2 separate regions of the Homo sapiens genome follow, and region 2 is linked to region 1. The links are contacts of gene promoters, found by promoter capture Hi-C in human tissues and cell types (Jung and others, 2019). All regions are on one chromosome and are shown on one strand. Each heading gives the region's core, a stretch centred on a gene start or on the middle of the fragment in contact. The rest is flanking DNA. Distances are from core to core; before and after follow the strand shown.

What was found. The method cuts DNA at HindIII sites, captures the fragments that hold promoters and counts their contacts. A contact is called where the count stands out against the background at its distance.
Region 2: a fragment that was not itself captured here is called in contact with the fragment with the promoter of GGT6 in region 1 in 1 of the 25 tissues and cell types used here (pancreas).

Annotation. Positions count from the first base shown.
Region 1 is chr17:4,555,871-4,561,897 of GRCh38, reverse strand. It overlaps GGT6 (gamma-glutamyltransferase 6), which reads left to right and starts at 1,321. Exons shown (of 4, transcript NM_001288702.2): 1 at 1,321-1,516; 2 at 2,138-2,340; 3 at 2,442-2,555; 4 at 2,841-4,971. The coding sequence starts at 1,377. The coding sequence ends at 3,883. The HindIII fragment of the contact is 6,687 bases long and covers 1-1,845 here.
Region 2 is chr17:4,517,141-4,523,688 of GRCh38, reverse strand. All of the region lies in intron 2 of SPNS2 (SPNS lysolipid transporter 2, sphingosine-1-phosphate), which reads right to left. Among named protein-coding and RNA genes, the nearest start is that of SPNS2, 22 kb to the right of the region's middle. The HindIII fragment of the contact is 4,831 bases long and covers 1,865-6,548 here.

The sequences.
Region 1 (6,027 bases), core at 72-2,571:
CATTTTCACACCCAGGGCACTCGTGTCACCAACACTCAGATTAAGAAACAACATCTCGGCCGGGCGCGGTGGCTCACACCCGTAATCCTAGTACTTTTGGGAGGCTGAGGCGGGCGGATCACCTGAGGTCAAGAGTTCAAGACCAGGCTGGCCAACATGGTGAAACCCTGTCTCTACTAAAAATACAAAAAATTAGCCAGGCGTGGTGGCATGTGCCTGTAATCCCAGCTACTCGGGAGGCTGAGGCAGAAGAATTGCTTGAACCCAGGAGGTGGAAGTTGCAGTGAGCTGAGATTGCACCATTGCACTCCAGCCTGGGCAACAAGAATGAAAACTCTGTCAAGAAAGAAAGAAGAGAAAGAAAAGAAAGGTAAAGGAAAAAGGAAAGGAAAGAAAGGAAGGAAAGAAAGGACATCTCCAGCATTCCAGAAACCCCCTGGTACCTCCTCCAGTCACTATCTGACTTCTAAGGGCAGACTGTTGTTGCTCTTTTGTTGTTGCCTGTTTGTGTACTTTGTGTAAATGAAAGCATATAGCGTGCGCTGTCTCCTGCCTGGCTGCTTTCCCTCGTCCTTATGCTTGTCAGACCTGTGTATATTATTGCATATAATTGTAGATCACTCACTCTCTTTGCTGCAGAGTGGTCCATTGTGACTTACATCATTCATTCTAACGATAATGGATGTTTGGGCACTTTCCAATTTGGGACTGTTACAAACAGCACTGTTTTGCAACAAGTCCTTGATGGGAATCCCAGAATGAATTTAGAAATGTTGGTTTCCAGGCTGTGGCGCTACCTTCTGGACAAGAGTCGCAAAACACGCACAGGGAGTTACGAACCAAGTTGCTCCTCAAAGAAACCCAGACCCAGAGTAGCCACAGGCTGAGCCTTGACCCCGGCCAGAGACCAGACACCCCTACGCCAGAACCTAGTCACGTGCAGACTCAAGCACGTGGGAGCTCTGACCCAAGCCACCGTGAAACCGTAGCTCTAATTCAAGTCCACAGTCCCTAGAGTCCCAGGTGGGTGGGATCCATGGGCTACATCCCCCAAGGGGAGGAGCCCAGCAGGTGCCCTGAGTATCAAGGTTGTGGCATTAAGGCTGAACTCCTTCTCGACCTCACTGAGCTGTGGCCCCTTACAGGCAGTCACCCCGGGAACCCTGTCGCGAGAGCTCCTCGGGCCTTGTGTCCTAATGGGGCAGGCTCACATGCAGCCTCCTTGGCCCCGTGCCCTGCCCAGACCTGTTCTGGATTCCACCCCCACCCTTCCCCAAGGTCGCTGCCACCTCCCACCTGCCAGGCTTGGGCAGGGCCTCTGAGACACAGCCGGAAAGGCTGGCAGGCAGGAGGGCTGGGGCGAGCACTGGGGGGCCATGGAGCGGGCAGAAGAGCCCGTGGTCTATCAGAAGCTGCTGCCCTGGGAGCCAAGCTTGGAGTCGGAGGAGGAAGTGGAGGAGGAGGAGACATCAGAGGCGCTGGTTCTAAACCCCCGGAGGCACCAGGACTCTTCCAGGTAAGTAAGGGAGGGGTCTGGGCACCAGGCTCCCCAGGCTTGAGGTTGGCAAGTCCCTCTCTCTGGAGCCCCTCAGGGGGACCAGGCGACTCCCCGCTGGGTTTAGCTCCAGGCACTGTACGGTCAATTTGGGGGAAAACCCAGGCTGTAGCCCGAGACTTGGCCTGACCCAATCAAAAGTCTGTGCATCTGGAGGGACATTTGTACCAAGCCAGCCTCTGTCCCATCTGCTGCTTTGTCAAAGGTCCCCAGCCCCCAAGTCCTGGTGCAGGAGGCACCTGCTGGGCAGGTTGGGGCCTGACTACGCCTGGCTGGGCCTGCTCCCCAGCCCCTTCTCTCCTGCCTGCCACACCCCACTGGGCCTCCCTCCCACCTGAGTGGACTCTGCCCCACCAATCTCCCCTCCAGAGGCTCCCTCCCTAGCTAGGCTCAGTTTCCCCAGATGCTTTCCCATCCCCATGTCTGCCCAAGATGCACCCGCTGCCAAGAAGCCCTTTCTCCTTGGCTGACTTGTGCTCCTCTTGCTAAATCAAACCTTTTGGGAAATATTCCCTGGGGTCTCTTGGGGTCCTTGGGCATCCCTCTGTCCCAGCCGTGGCTCAGGACACCCCCCCTCTGCAGGAACAAGGCTGGCGGGCTGCCCGGAACCTGGGCCCGTGTAGTGGCAGCCCTGCTGCTGCTGGCTGTTGGCTGCTCCCTGGCTGTGAGGCAGCTCCAGAATCAGGGCAGGTCGACAGGAAGCTTGGGCTCTGTGGCCCCTCCACCCGGCGGACACTCCCACGGCCCTGGCGTATACCACCACGGTGCCATCATCAGCCCTGCAGGTCAGTCAGTGCTGGGGGCGGCTTGGGGAGGGGAGGGTCAGGGGTCACCAGCCCAGCCTAGCCCCCCTCCTTGCTGCATGACAGTGCCTTCCTTGCTGCAGCCACATGCTCCCACCTAGGCCGAGAGCTGCTTGTTGCCGGGGGCAACGTCGTGGATGCTGGAGTTGGAGCTGCATTGTGCCTGGCAGTGGTGCATCCTCATGCCACGGGGCTAGGTCAGTGACCCCTGACCCCAGACTGCAACCCCAACCCACAGCCTGATCAGTGACCTGGAACTTAGGGAGTCAGTAGCACTGACCTCAAGACTGCTAAGTGAGCAGGACTTAGGGTTTGGGCAGCAGTCCAACCCCAGGCTATGACCCTTGAGCCCGGGTCTGTGGAACTTTGACCTCAGGCCTGGTCAGTAACTCCTGATCCCAGGCTCAGTCAAGGGATCTTGACTGAAACAAGTCAGTGACCCTTGACCTGCGGCTGCTGAGGGACCCCTCTGTCTCCTGCAGGTGCCATGTTTTGGGGCCTCTTCCACGATAGCTCCTCAGGCAATTCCACGGCCCTGACATCAGGCCCAGCACAGACCCTGGCCCCCGGCCTGGGGCTGCCCGCGGCTCTGCCCACCCTGCACCTGCTGCATGCACGCTTCGGCCGCCTGCCCTGGCCACGCCTGCTAGTGGGCCCCACCACGCTGGCTCAGGAGGGCTTCCTGGTGGACACACCCCTGGCAAGGGCTCTGGTGGCTCGGGGCACAGAAGGCCTCTGTCCACTACTTTGCCATGCTGATGGGACACCCCTGGGCGCTGGGGCCCGAGCCACCAACCCACAACTGGCAGCTGTGCTTCGCAGCGCAGCCCTCGCTCCCACCTCAGACCTTGCTGGGGATGCTCTACTGAGTCTACTGGCGGGAGACCTGGGGGTGGAGGTGCCCTCGGCTGTGCCCAGGCCCACTTTGGAACCAGCAGAGCAGCTACCTGTGCCCCAGGGCATCCTGTTCACCACCCCCAGTCCCTCAGCTGGCCCAGAACTGCTGGCACTGTTGGAGGCAGCCCTGCGCTCCGGGGCGCCCATCCCTGACCCCTGCCCACCGTTCCTGCAGACTGCTGTGAGCCCCGAGAGCAGTGCCCTGGCCGCCGTGGACAGCAGCGGCTCTGTGCTCCTTCTCACCTCCTCGCTCAACTGCTCCTTTGGCTCTGCACACCTGTCCCCAAGCACTGGGGTTCTGCTCAGCAACCTGGTGGCCAAGTCTACCACTAGTGCCTGGGCCTGCCCCCTCATCCTCCGTGGCAGCCTGGATGACACAGAGGCTGATGTGTTGGGGCTTGTGGCTTCAGGGACCCCTGATGTGGCCAGGGCCATGACTCACACCCTACTCAGGCATCTGGCAGCAAGGCCCCCTACCCAGGCCCAGCACCAGCATCAGGGTCAGCAAGAACCAACAGAGCATCCCAGCACTTGTGGCCAAGGGACCCTGCTCCAGGTGGCAGCCCACACAGAGCACGCCCATGTCTCCAGTGTCCCCCATGCCTGCTGCCCCTTCCAGGGGTTCTAACAGGATGGGGGTGGGTCTGGCAGAAGGCAGAGTTATCTGAAGCATGGGGGCAGGAGCAGAGCAGACACAGCAGCAATGGAGTGTGCACCCGCAGGGTGTGGTGCCTCACACCTGTAATCTCAGCACTTTGGGTGGTCAAGGCAGGAAGATACCTCGAGGCCAGGAGTTTGAAACTAGCCTAGACAACAAAGCAAGATCTCATCTGTACTAAAAATTTAAAAATTTGCCAGGGGCGGTGGCACATGCCTGTTGTCCCAGCTGCTTGGGAGGCTGAGGCAGGAAGCTCGCTTGAGCTCAGGAGTTCAAGGCTGCAGAGAGCTAGGATCACACCACTGCACTCCAGCCTGGACAACAGAGTGAGAACCTGTCTTTAAAATAATAATAATAATAATAAAAAAATAGCTGGGTGCGGTGGCTCATGCCTGTAATCCCAGCACTTTGGGAGGCCAAGGCAGGTGGATCACCTGAGGCTAGGAGTTCGAGACCAGCTTGGGCAACATGGCGAAACCCCGTCTCTACTAAAAATACAAAAAATTAGCTGGGCATGGTGGCGGGCACCTGTAATCCCAGCTACTTGGGAGGCTGAGGCAGGAGAATCACTTGAACCCGAGAGGTGGAGGTTGCAGTGAACCAAGATCGCACCATTGCAACCCCACCTGGGCAACAAGAGGGAAACCCTGTCTAAAAAAAAAAAAAAAAAAAAGGATTTATTATGTGCTCACTGCTGGCTCAGGCCCCAACCTCTGGCCTTTTAAGTTACCTAGACTTGAGTTCTGGCATCCAGAGCTAACAATCATTCTTCAGATCACCCACACCGGATGGAATCTCTAGCTATTTTATCAGCTAAGAAAATCAGGGTAATAACGAAAAAGCAGTAGGGCCTGGGGCTAGCACTGAGTTCAGATCCAGCTTTCAGGAGGACAGTGGAAAGAGTGCAGAGCCTCTGCCTAGGCCCTGGGCCCCACGAAGCAGGACAGGCAGAGCCCAGGGTACTGTTGGCATCTCTGTCCTTCCCTTCAGGACACCCCTTACCTATCTGCCTCAACCAGACTGGGTACAAAATAAAGATCAAGTCTCCCGGAAACCAAGCACCATTCCTGCTTCTTGGTTAATTTTCCAACAGCTTTTGAAGCAACTGGAGTCAGGGCTTCCCTGATGGGCAGCACAGGTGACCAACAACCAGAGAGGGGAGAGCCTGGGTTGGTATCTTTCAGCTTCCCCCTGCTCCGCTCACCTCCTGCCTCCTGGGGCACCAGATGTGCAAGGTGAATGTTTTCATTTCACTTTCTAGAACAGACAGCAAAGCAGGGAAGCGGCTGAGAGGGTGAGAAGGCGCCCCAGGGGCTTGGGTACAAAGGGGTTGGAGTTGAGCGTGTGGAAATTCAAGGCGAAGGTTAGCCCTGACCTCCCCCAAGGGTTAGGTCCTCTCTGGACCACAGCCCTCTATAAACAGCTTCTCAAACCAAGAAGCGAGGGTGACCAGTAGCAGTTCCCCTCCCCTGCCATTGTAAAAGGCTTCTCTGATTTAATAGACCGTTTGATCCCACCACCTTTACCTCCCACTCCCAAGAAAATTCTTCTCCGTAATGGCACCACAATGTACCCAGTTATTTCAGTCTCAAACCTGGCATCCCCCTCATTTCCTCTCCCCCGACATCTAACTCCATCACCCACCCCACCTGCTCCACATCAGCCCAAATCTGACCTGTTCTCATTTTCCCTGGGTCCAGTCCACCACTATCTCTAAATGGTCTTCCCGTGCTTCCACCTGCGCAGACCTACAGTCCATCCCCCACACAGCAGCCAGCATCATCTTGTTAAAATGTAAATCGGATCCAGGCTTGCCCCTGCATTAAACTCACCAGTGACTTCCCATCACCCTCAGAATGAAATCCCAGCCCGGGGCCCCATGCAGCCTTGCTTCTCGCCAGCCTCAGCCCCTCCAGCCCTGGGTCTCTGTAGTTGCAAGGCTTGGGATTTCGTCCCCTTAGATCCTTGCAGGAGTACGGGGGAGGGGGGCCCTTCTTGTCACTCAGCTCTCATCCCAAATGCCACTTCCTCACAGAGGCCTTCCCTGACCAACCCCTCAAATCATTATTGGAGACCCTATTGAATAGTAATTAGCCGTGTTTTTAACGGGTGAT
Region 2 (6,548 bases), core at 3,031-5,530, 41 kb after region 1:
CTCACTGCAACCTCTGCCTCAGCCTCACGAGTAGCTGGCATTACAGGCACACACCATCACGCTCTGCTGATTTTTGTATTTTTAGTAGAGACGGGGTTTCACCGTGTTGGCTAGGCTGGTCTCCAACTCCTGACCTCAGGTGATCCACCTGCCTCGGCCTCCCAAAGTGCTGGGACTACAGGCGTGAGCCACCGTGCCTGGCTGAGAGAAATTTATTGATATAGTTAGCTGGTGTTTTATTTGTTTGTGAGACAGTGTCTTGCTCCGTTGCTCAGGCAGCTGGAGTGCAGTGGTGCGATTTCCGCTCACTGCAACCTCCGCCTCCCAGGTTCAAGCAATTCTCCTGCCTTAGCCTCTTGAGTAGCTGGGATTACAGGCGCCTGCCACCACGCCCAGCTAATTTTTGTATTGTTAGTAGAGACGGGGTTTCTCTATGTTGGCCAGCCTGGTCTCAAACTCCTGACCTCAAGTGATCTACCTGCCGCGGCCTCCCAAAGTGTGGGATTACAGGCGTGAGCCACTGCACCCGGCCACCACAATTTTAAATTGAGCGGTCAAAGTGGGTATTTCAGCCAGGACCTGGAGGAGGTAAGGAAACAAATCACGCAATTATTGGGGCAAGAACAGCAAGTGCCTAGGCCCTGGGGCAGGAGTTTACTTAGCATGTTGGAGGAGCAGGAAAGAGGCTGGGGTGGGGCCCCGGAGCCCACTGTGATGACTGTGACGTCCATGGGTGAGAAAGGAAAACATGAGGGGATGTCGAACAAAGGCCGTGACCTGGCTTTGTTCTTCCAGAACAAGAGGTTTAGAAGATTCCACAGGGAGGCCACTGCCAGTGATGGGAGGGGCCTTGGAGGTCCCAGGTGGGATGAAGAGGCCCAGAGCAAGGTAGGGTGGACCCTAGGTCACACAGCGAGGTGGCCCCCCATCCCTCCCCCTGGAAAGCAGTCCCACAGCTGATGGGCAGATGGCCAGACAAAGGCTGGGAGTGACAGACATGGCAGCCAGTTGGCCTCTGACCGCCAGGCTGAATGTGTGCGTGGTCCCGGCTGCTCCTCCGTGGGCCTGAGACCCTGGCGAGATGGGACCTGAGAGAAGAGAAAGAGGGAGGGAGGAAGGAGGAAAAGAGAGAGGTGAAAGAGAGGCGAGAGGGCCAGGCAGAGCTCCCCTGAACCTGGCTGGAGGAGTGACTGCCCCTCTTTTATGCCAGCAAGAACAGGCCAGTGAGTGCGCGTGGGTGGTGGGTGTACGAGCAGACCTGTTAATTCCAGAGGCCTTGGGGAGAATCAGCATGCGGGTGCACAAATCCGGGCATGAGGCACACTCCCTGGGCTCAAATTCACCTCCGCTCCTTCCCAGCCGGTGACCTCAGTCAGGCCACAGCCATTCTGTGTCTCACCTTCAGTGGTGTGCTGATATATGTTTAACTGGCTCTGATAAAGGGTGAGGGGAGCCCTGATGTGGCGTGTTTGCTCATTTCTTTTTTTTCTGAGATGGAGTTTCGCTCTGTCGCCCAGGCTGGAGTGCAGTGGCACCGTCTCAGCTCACTGCAATCTCTGCCTCCCGGGTTCAAGCGATTCTCTTGCCTCGGCCTCCCAAGTAGCTGGGATTATAGGCATCTGCCACCACGCCCGGCTAATTTTTGAATGTTTAGTAGAGACAAGGTTTTGCCATGTTGGCCAGGCTGGTCTCAAACACCTGATCTCAGGTGATCCTCCTGCCTCGGCCTCCCAAAGTGCTGGGATTACAGGGGTGAGCCACCGTGCCCGGCCGTGTTTGCCCATTTCTGTGGTGTAAACACTCCGCCCTGGCTGAGTTCAAGCTACCCACGTCGTGTCACTGATGGGCGTTGGAAAGGGATGTGCGGGGACACGCCATTGTCCAGTGTTTCTACCACACAAATAGAACAGACGCCACTCACCATAGGACCACAGATAACGCTGAAACACAGCAAAATAATTAGGAAGTGAGGACTTTTGAGTAGTTATTACCTTGTTTCTAATTATTTAATTGTAAGCCGATATCATTTAGTTTTTAACAATGGTTGTATTTTACGACTAGCTCACACACCATTCCTGAAATGTTAACAATTGACTCTCATGAGCTGGCCTGAGCCAGCGCCAACATGCCAGCATCCTCATCTGTAAAATGAAGATAAAAATAGCAGCTCTCCAGGGTGGGTCTGGGTGCTGGATAGCACGTGCAAGGTGCTTAATGCCACACCCTGCCCAGAGCAGGCCGGCCTTGGTCAACACTGGGCCCTTGTTTAAATTAGTCAAGGCAGAAATTATTTCCTCACATTTAGAAAAAGAATTTTTCCTGCTGGGCCTGCCTCCAAGGACCTGCCTGAGATCAGATCAGAATGTGGCAGGAGGGAGATTTCCAGTTGCATCAGGACTGACACATGTTGGGGGAGGAGGAGGAATTGTTCTCCCTGTGCCTGTCTGTGCTAGGTGGCAAGTGGACAGAAGGAATCAGAAGAGAAGTTTCCCCCTGTCTGGCCAGGGGCAGATCTTGTTCATAGGTTGCTCTGTTTAAAGGACAACCTATGTTGGGGAACCACCAAGGAGCTCCAGATCCTGCCAGGATAATGAAGAGAGGCTTCCCGGAGGCGGTGGTGACAAAGCTGGGCACTGAAGCATGCATAGGAGTTTACCGCTAAGATAATACTTAACATCAAGAATATACGCTGAAATATAAACTTCAGATCAGCAATATTGTATAATGGTTCACGAGGCATGATGCTTAGTGTTCATGATAACTGCAGTTATTATTTATGGATATATAGGCAAGGCCCAGCATGCAGCCTTGACATATGCACAGATGATCTCTTTTGATTCTGTTCTCTTCATTTTACAGAGGAGACAATGGAGGCCAAAAGAAGTGATGTCACACAGCGAGTGTGCGGCTGAGCCAGAATTTAAATCCCAGTTTGGCAGACTCCAGAGTCCTTGCTCTAAATCACTCCCCAGACTGCCATGCTGGGAAGGGGGAAGGTCCCAGCTGATGTTCCCAAGGTCAGGGAAAGTTCAGGGCCTGCTGAGGACAGCAAGGAGACAGGTCAGGCCATGGCCTGAGGATGCTCAAGAGGAAGCAGCGAGAGATGAGGCTGTGGAGGGAGGACTGGGCTAAAGACCAGGACAGGGTTTGGTGTTTAGAAGGCGGCAGAGAACCACAGCGCGCTCTCTCCACCCCGCCCCCCAACACCATGGTAGGATCCTTGAAAAAGCCCCCTCCCGGGGGGGTGACGAGGGACTGGAGGGACGTGACCCAGACCTTCGCCAGACCCCGGCCATCATGCTCCATTCTCTCCTCTTGCCCACAGTGGAGCAGGAAGCACGGGCCCTTCTTAGCTCTTTCAACCCCTCCCTGGTTTCTGGCTCCTCACTTAGATGGGCAGAAGTCCCCAGGACTGCAGGTGGACTCCTGGCAGAAGCTGGCACGCCCCGTCCCCACCCACCGGCCCCAGCCTGATGAACTTGCCCAAGCACCTACGTGCCCTTAGCTCACCTGATCCTCCCCACGTCCATCCCTATCTAACAGCTGAGGTCACTGAGGCCCCAAGAGGTGGAGGAAGTTGCCCGAGATGACAGACCAAATTAGGAAGGCACAGTCTGGACCAGCCTGCCCCTCAGTGTCTTCCCTTGGGACATGGCAGTCCAGGGTCAGGAGGGAGGTGGGATCCATCACTGCTGCCCTCTCTCTGCTCAGGACAGACAGGAGGGAGGACCCCGCCTGGCCCCCTGGAGGTCACAGGCCATGGAGGGGCCTGAACACAATCAGGGTAGGGACGGGGAGGGGGCTGAGAGAATGTTCCTGGCAGAAGGGACAGGATAGGCGAAGCCTTGCCCATGTGGACTGTGTCCGATGGGGACACAGAGGCCAGCAGGCAACTCTGCTGAGAATAAAGACCAGCCTGGGCTGGGCCTCCAAGCTAGAAGCTTCCCCTGCCCACCACCCCGCAATCCCGTGGTCTTTGTTTGTTTGAGGAGAGCTTTCTGGGCAGACTGGCAGCCCCACCCCTGGTTTTGGTAGGGGCGGCTTTCCCAGCAGTTCCCGCAGGGACATCCTGTGGAGGGTGTGCTGAGCCCACAGGTCTAGGACAATGGAGAGGCAGGGCAGGGAGCCAGGGCCGAGCGGGCAGGGCCGTGACAGCAGGGAGGGAGGGGTCAGACCAGCCCGCCTGCCTCGGGGTCTTGGGCCAGGGCCTCACTCCCTCCTCCTCGCCAGGCTGGCAGGAGGCCGTCAGAAAGCCAGTGCTGTCCACCTCTCACGGCAGCCCAGAGCTCAGAACCCCCACGGGCCCTCGGTGTCCTGGTGGGCAGCCCCAGGACCCCTGTCCATGGTGAGCGGAGCCATCCCCATGGCACACATGGCCTGTATGACCCCAGAAAGCAGTTTTGGAGCAGGAAAGGGCAAGTCTGAGCTTGAGGGAGCCCTGAGCCCCCGCCCTGTGGCCTTGGAGCCTGCATTCAGCCCTTGCTTCGGCCTGGGCTGAGCCACGGCTATTTTTACATGGCTGATCTGTTATTTGGAGAAGACCTACCATCCTCCACATCCTGTGGGCAGGGAGGGTGCTCAGGCAGGCATGGGTGGGGCGGGGGCCAGGCTCTGCCATCCAAGGGACGGCCTGGGCTGGCCAAGCTGACGGAGAATGCTCAGGACAGATGGCCCCATCAGCGCCTGAAAGCTCACCACGCTCAGACTTCCCGGTGGAAGGACGGGAACACCTGCTCTGTGATCCCCTACTCAGGATGTAAACCTTGTGTTGGGCTCTCAGGCCTCAGGGTGAATGAGGTTTTGGGGCCACTCCTTGAAAAGGAGGGCTTTGGGGAACAGCCGCAGGGGCTGCCCGGCTGTGCCTTCAGAACCCAAGTCTGCTGAAGCAGGAGTCGCTGGGCTGGCCAAAGACGGGAGGGGAGAACAGGCAGAAGGAGACTTACCCCCAAAACAGAGGCACTGTCTGGTTTCGGTTTGAGCTGGCTCTTCCTCTGTCCCCACTCTCCCTCCGTTCCCCCATCCCCATCCTGGCACTTCCTCGTGAGCCTACAAACCCCGGCCCTGAGTAGCCTTCAGCTTCCTCTGCTGCCCCTTCCCACACTTGGTCCCAGAATGAATATCCTGAGACACACATCTTTTTTGTTTGTTTGTTTTTGTTTTGTTTTTGAGACGGAGTCTCGCTCTGTCGCCCAGGCTGGAGTGCAGTGGCGCGATCTCGGCTCACTGCAAGCTCCGCCTCCTGGGTTCATGCCATTCCCCTGCCTCAGTCTCCCGAGTAGCGGGATTACAGGCACCCGCCACCACACCCGGCTAATTTTTTGTATTTTTAGCAGAGACGGGGTTTCACCATGTTAGCCAGGATGGTCTCGATCTCCTGACCTCGTGATCCACCCGCCTCAGCCTCCCAAAGTGCTGGGATTACAGGCGTGAGCCACCGCGCCCGGCCCGAGACACACATTTTACACGGACTGCCCTGTTCCAAAACCTTCTCTGGCTCCCTACTGCCCCAAGACAAAACCTACATGCCTTATCTTGGCCTTCAAGCCTTTCACACTCAGACCCTGCCCACTGTCCAGCCTCTTCTCCTTCTGTTCTCCCCATACGCCAACCCATGGCCAATGGGCCACAGGCCACTCGAGTCAGGCAGTGCCACAAACAGCCTTCGTTCTCCCTCACCCTTCCCTGTGTTGCATTGACGCTGATTTCCTCAGATCTAGCTTCTAATTCACTTTTCTTTTCAACTAGGTGTAGTCTACTCATTAACTCACCTAATTATTCCATTTTTTATTTTAATACATATTTTTCACTTCTGGTATTTTCGAATATTAGTCTTTTAAACATTTTCCGGTTCTCTTTTCATAATGTTCTGTTCTTGTCTTACAAGTCCTATCCTTTCCTTTAGAGCTTTGAATATTAAACACACCTAATTTTAAAGTCCCTTTGTGACGAATCTGTTTTCCCATCTTCAGGGTCAGCTGACTCCCTCTCAAAAAAATGAGGGAGAACTGTATGCTCTATTAATTTTTTTTTTTGAGACGGAGTCTTGGTCTTGTTACCCAGGCTGGAGTGCAGTGGTGTGATCTTGGCTCACTGCAACCTCCACCTCTTGGGTTCAAGCGATTCTCCTGCCTCAGCCTCCTGAGTAGCTGAGATTACAGGCGCCCACACCATGCCCAGCTAATTTATGTATTTTAGTAGAGATGGGGTTCACCATGTTGGTTCAGGCTGGTCTCAAACTGCTGACCTCGGGTGATCCACCCGCCTCAGCCTCCCAAAGTGCTGGGATTACAGGTGTGAGCCACCGCGCCTGGCCTGCTCTATTAATTTTGAATTTGAGTTTGTCTTCAGTGGAAATTGTCCCGTGTCCCATGCAGGCTCTGGGTCATGAAGAATTCCCTAAGGAATGGTTTGGGATTTGCTTCTGCCAGGGTCCCTGGAAACAGAGGGGGCCTCTATGGGGAAGGAAGTGGAAGCCCCAGGCCTGTACGGAGCAGGGGCTGGAACTAGCCAGCGCCAGGTGGGAAATGCCCATTCTCGAAAGGGAACTC